2 separate regions of the Homo sapiens genome follow, and region 2 is linked to region 1. Evidence: promoter capture Hi-C in human tissues and cell types (Jung and others, 2019). All regions are on one chromosome and are shown on one strand. The core of a region is centred on a gene start or on the middle of the fragment in contact, and the rest is flanking DNA. Distances in the headings are between cores, read along the strand shown. Region 1 holds the start of GBA2 (glucosylceramidase beta 2). Region 2 has its middle 14 kb from the start of DNAJB5.

The links. The method cuts DNA at HindIII sites, captures the fragments that hold promoters and counts their contacts. A contact is called where the count stands out against the background at its distance.
Region 2: a fragment that was not itself captured here is called in contact with the fragment with the promoter of GBA2 in region 1 in 1 of the 25 tissues and cell types used here (spleen).

The regions. Positions count from the first base shown.
Region 1 is chr9:35,747,945-35,750,557 of GRCh38, reverse strand. It overlaps GBA2 (glucosylceramidase beta 2), which reads left to right and starts at 1,330. Exons shown (of 17, transcript NM_020944.3): 1 at 1,330-2,212. The coding sequence starts at 1,854. It overlaps RGP1 (RGP1 partner of RAB6A GEF complex), which reads right to left and starts at 1,271. Exons shown (of 9, transcript NM_001080496.3): 1 at 1,150-1,271; 2 at 687-821; 3 at 179-315. The coding sequence starts at 802. RefSeq lists silencers at 982-1,031, 1,062-1,111, 1,232-1,631. The HindIII fragment of the contact is 11,811 bases long and covers 1-2,217 here.
Region 2 is chr9:35,002,881-35,005,493 of GRCh38, reverse strand. It overlaps the pseudogene LOC100420114. Among named protein-coding and RNA genes, the nearest start is that of DNAJB5, 14 kb to the right of the region's middle. RefSeq lists an enhancer at 1,670-2,170. The HindIII fragment of the contact is 4,415 bases long and covers 1-2,613 here.

The DNA.
Region 1 (2,613 bases), core at 81-2,580:
CCCTGCTGTGAAATGGGAATAGTCTTCTACCCCTAAAGCAATAGTCATGCTCCCCAACATCCCCAGCATGACAGGGACTATAAGAACAAGAACAATTAACAACTTCACCCATGGGTGACAATGCCTCCACACACACCCTCCGCACCCCCCCTCTCCCAGGCAAATGCCCCTCTCTAACCTCGGTGTGGCAGAAAGACAGTCTGGCTGTCGGGCTGGACATCTGGCTGACTAGAGTCAGGAGGAGGCAGTGCTACTCGACTCTCACTGGCATGGAACTGGCAGTGGATTTGGGCACTGGCCCAGGCCAGGGCCTCACTGTGGGAAAAGGAAAAGGAGGCATCAGAGGTAGTTCCTGACCTCACAAATGCTTTCCCAAGCTCCCTATCACACCATCTTAACCAACAAGGTTAGATGGCTGTCCTAGTGATCAGGAAATCCACAATCCCAAAGAGAAACCATTAAATAAAGAGTAGCAGACTGTGCGTAAAAAGGGGAACGGGGGAGGGGAAGGAAAGCGTACAGCTATGTCATCCACATCTTCTGTTAAAGAGCCCTCTCCTACAATGACAGCACAGTGAGCAAGAGGAGGTGGTGTCGCTACAGGACAACCTGAGCTCTGCCTCAGCCCCAGAGATAATCTGGCTTCTTCCCAGAAGGGCCACCACCTTCAGTGCCAGCATCCCCACCTGGATGCAGAAGTGGCCGTGGGCGGAAGGGGGTTGGTGACGGTCACTACACACTCCAGCGCCTCCCCAGCCAAAAATACAGGACCCCGGCTGAGCTCTGCTACCACTTCAATCATGGCAGCTCCGGAATCAGATCTAGAAGGAAACAAGGCGGGGCGGAGGTCAGCACCTTGACAGGGAGGGGCGTTGCGGTGAGCACCTAGGGCTGAGGGCTGAGGACAGGGGTGGTCAGCACCGTGGTGCCCGAGGGAGCTCCTGGATATAGGAGGGGTAGGCGGGTGGGAGGGAGGCGACTGAAGACTCAGTACTGCCCAGGGGGAGGACATCGCTCTGGGCCCTAGACCCCAGCCCCTGTGCGACGGGTTCTTCTCCCTGGGCACCCCCGCGGAGTTCCCAAACTGGCCTCCGCTCCCCCTTTCCTCAAAGTTCCACGTCCCAGCCCAAGATCACCGCCGCTAGTCACCTCGCATAGTCGACACTAGGGATCGGCACCCCTAGGCCTCATCTGCCCGCCCCTCAGGGACCTGGCTAGGTACGCGGCGGCGGCGGCGGCGGCGGCGTCCGCTGGGCGGTAGAGGCGGGACTTCCCTTCGGTCCCCCACCCTCCGCGGAGTCCCTTCCGGCCGGAAGCGCCCGGCAGGCCAGACCGGAAAGGGCTCGGGTCATCCCGGCGCCCAGGGTCACCTTCCCACGGGCTGGCACCTGGGCGCGGGCGCTGCCCCGGAGCCGGCCGGCGGGACCTGGCGCCCAATCCTGGGGGACCCGGTGCCGTGGCCCAGGGGCCGGGCCGAGGTCCCGGGGGCGGTGCCTTGCGGGCCCGTCCCGGGGCGGTGCCTGGTGGGCTGGCCCCGCGGCTCCTCCCCTCTCTGCGGGCCCAGTCGCCCTTTGGCCGGGCGAGCTAATCGTCGGCTCAATGACGACGAGGCCCGACCCTTCCCGTCCAGGACCTACAGAGACAACCGAAGGAGAGCCCAAGGCGGCTTCTTTGCTGTCGCCGCCCCCACTGAAGCAAGAGCTCCCCGGCTCCACTGAAACACCAGCTCATTTAAGCTTTCCCCAACGCCCGGCCCTCCGGGACGATACCTAACAACGACCGGCGCCCGCATCTGGAATAGGCTGGCGAGATACTTAGTATCCGAGGGCTCGGGACTTGGCGCCATCGAGGTCATGGGGACCCAGGATCCAGGGAACATGGGAACCGGCGTCCCAGCCTCGGAGCAGATAAGCTGTGCCAAAGAGGATCCACAAGTTTATTGCCCTGAAGAGACTGGCGGCACCAAGGATGTGCAGGTTACAGACTGTAAGAGTCCCGAAGACAGCCGACCCCCAAAAGAGACGGACTGCTGCAATCCGGAGGACTCTGGGCAGCTGATGGTTTCCTATGAGGGTAAAGCTATGGGCTACCAGGTGCCTCCCTTTGGCTGGCGCATCTGTCTGGCTCATGAGTTTACAGAGAAGAGGAAACCCTTTCAAGCTAACAACGTCTCCCTAAGCAACATGATAAAGCATATAGGCATGGGCTTGAGGTGAGTAGACCCCATTGCCTAGAATGCCTTTGGCTTCACTTTGTTCCAGCTCAAAACTTCTAGCAGAGGTGGGAAAGGGCAAGAAAGCAGTTGGGCTTCTTGTCTGAGTGAAGCGGTCCCTATCCCTGGCATATTTTAGGCCTGTGGTTTTGGACCGTGAGACCAGGTCACATCTCTTTGCAACACCCTTCCCTCCCAGTGTTTTGTCTTTTCAGAAGGAAAGGGTAGGAACATTTGGTCATGCAATCAGCCTTTCCCATTCAGGCTCTTCTCACATACTGGTTTCCAATGACTTCCCTTTGGGATTAGCTATACTTTGTGGCAAGGTAGGAAAGGATAATCTGGCTGCTGTGATACTAACACAATGTTGTTTTATTTGGGGGTGGGGGGGTCTCAACCCC
Region 2 (2,613 bases), core at 34-2,533, 750 kb after region 1:
ATAAAATAAAATGCATATTGAGAATAAGATGGCCTTCTGACCTTTCAGGGTCTAGGGCTGTAAAGCGTCTCAGGGTTGCTGCCAAACGAGCCATGAACTGGGCTGGGTTTCTCATATTTGATGAAAAAGAGCCTAAACGCTAACTGATTTTGGGAGAGGTCGGATAAAGAAAAAGGAGCGTTAACCTTGACTATGCCTTTATATCCAGCCATCTTTTTAAGAGGAAATTGCTGGGCAGGTGGGGGAAGGCTGGTTGAGGAATGAAACTGTAAGCCGGACAAGGTGTGAGGAGGGGAGGTGATAAAAGGATTATAGGGTGGGGGAGCAGAGGCTGAGGAAGAATTGGGACCTGGCTCTGCCTGGTGAGGAGGGGAGAGGTCAGATGGGTCTGTAGAAAAGGAAGATTAGAAAGACTCAGTGATGCTTGGGGTTGGGACTGAGGGGACAGGTGGGAGGGAAAGAAGGAAGATTTGGGACTGGTTGCATTGGGAACAGAGACCAGGGAGGAACCGATGTGTAAAAGAATGCCTGGACGTCAGGCACCTCAGACCATTTGCCTAATTTATGACAAGAATTATTTAGATCTTGTAGGATGGAAAAATTAAAAGTGCCATTTTCTGGCTATTTGGAACTACTGTTGAGTTTGTATTGGGGTCAAGCAGCATTGCAGAAGAAAATAAGATGCTTAGATTTTAGGTCAGGTGAGAGTTGAAGAGGTTTTAAGTTCTTAAGAACACAGGCTAAGGGAGAAGGAGGAGGAATGGAGGGTGGAAGGTTGCCCATAGTGAAGGAAGCAAGCCCAGAGAAAAGAGAGTAGAGACACGGAGGGAAGGGGTTCGGGGGTTCTTACCCTCCAGAAAAGCAGGAAAGGGGTCGGGGCACAGAAATAAGGGGTTGGGGTGCAGAGATAAGAGGTCAGGGTGCGGAAATAAGGGATTGCGGTGTGGAAATAAGGGATCGGGGCACAGAGATAAGAGGTTGGGGTGCGGAAATAAGGGATCGGGGCGCAGAGATAAGAGGTCGGGGCATGGAAATAAGGGATCGGGGCTCAGAGATAAGGGGTCAGGGCGTGGAAATAAGGGATGGGGCACAGAGATAAGAGGTTGGGGCACAGAAATAAGGGATCGGGGGTTCTTGCCCCCAGAAAAGCAGAGAAGGGGTAGAGACACGGAGAGAAGGGGTTGGGGGGTTCTTGCCCCCTAGAAAAGTGGTACTTGCAGCTAAGGGTGAAGGAGAAGGGGTTGGGGGGGTTCTTGCCCTCTAGAAAAGCAGAGGAGTAGAGACATGGAGAGAAGGGGTTGGGGGGTTCTTGCCCCCTAGAAAAGCAGTACTTGCTGCTAAGGGTGAAGGACCAAGGCAGGTGTCCCCATGTGGTCAGACACCTCTGAAACATGGGTGAAAAATCAGAGAGGTGTCCCTGCAATGATTAAACACCAAGGGAAGGCTGCCTTCCTTAGTCCGTGACTGGCGCCAGAGTTTTGGGTCCAAGGATAAAATGTGTCTCCTTTGTCTCTACCAGAAAATGAAAGGAATTGAAAGTAAGAGAGGGAGAGATTGAAGGGTGGCGCCAAGATTGAAAGGAGAAAGTGGTTGAGGGATAGTGAGAGAGGTTGGAGAAGAGAGTAAGAAGAGGCCGCTTACCCGATTTAAAATTGGCGAGATGTTCCTTGGGCTGGTGGGTCTGAGGACCCGAGGTCGTAGGTGGATCTTTTTCACAGAGCAAAGAGCAGGAGGACAGGGGATTGATCTCCCAAGGGAGGTCCTCCAATCTGAGTCACAGCACCAAATTTCATGCGCGTCTGTGTGAAGAGACCACCAAACAGGCTTTGTGTGAGCAACAAGGCTGTTTATTTCACCTAGGTGCAGGCGGGCTGAGTCCGAAAAGAGAGTCAGCCAAGGGAGATAGGGGTGGGGCCGTTTTATAAGATTTGGGTAGGTAAAGGAAAATTACAGTCAAAGGGGGGTTGTTCTCTGGCGGGCAGGGGGGGCGGTCACAAGGTGCTCAGTAGGGGAGCTTTTGAGCCAGGATGAGCCAGGAGAAGGAATTTCACAAGATAATGTCATCAGTTAAGGCAGGAACAGGCCACTTTCATTTCTTTTGTGGTGGAATGTCATCAGTTAAGGCAGGAACCGGCCATCTGGATGTGTACATGCAGGTCACAGGGGATATGATGGCTTAGCTTGGGCTCAGAGGCCTGGCAAGTATAATGTGGCATTTCTGGAAATCAGACTCCCCACCCCGACCCCAAGCTTTGTTGTTGCTATTTGTCATTGTTGTTTGCTTGTGTCGTGACTTTACTAATTGTGTAAATTGTGTATTTTTTTTTGTTGTGTGTGGCCACTGAAGTGTCTGCTTGGCTAGCTTAGCCAAAGACTAGACAGAGGTTTCATTAAGTGATTGCACCCAATGAGTCTACCAGTCTTTGCTGGAGGGGTATATACATAAATTTTTCTGGAACTATTTTAGAGTCACTTGCTGGCATACAGGACAACATAGGCTCCCAACCACTGTGGAGCACCAAAGACAAACCAGAGCAGCTGCACATCCTCAGCAGCTCCCAAATTCCAAAATCTTGGGGGATGGAACCATCTCTCCTGGAGTCTCACCTCTGC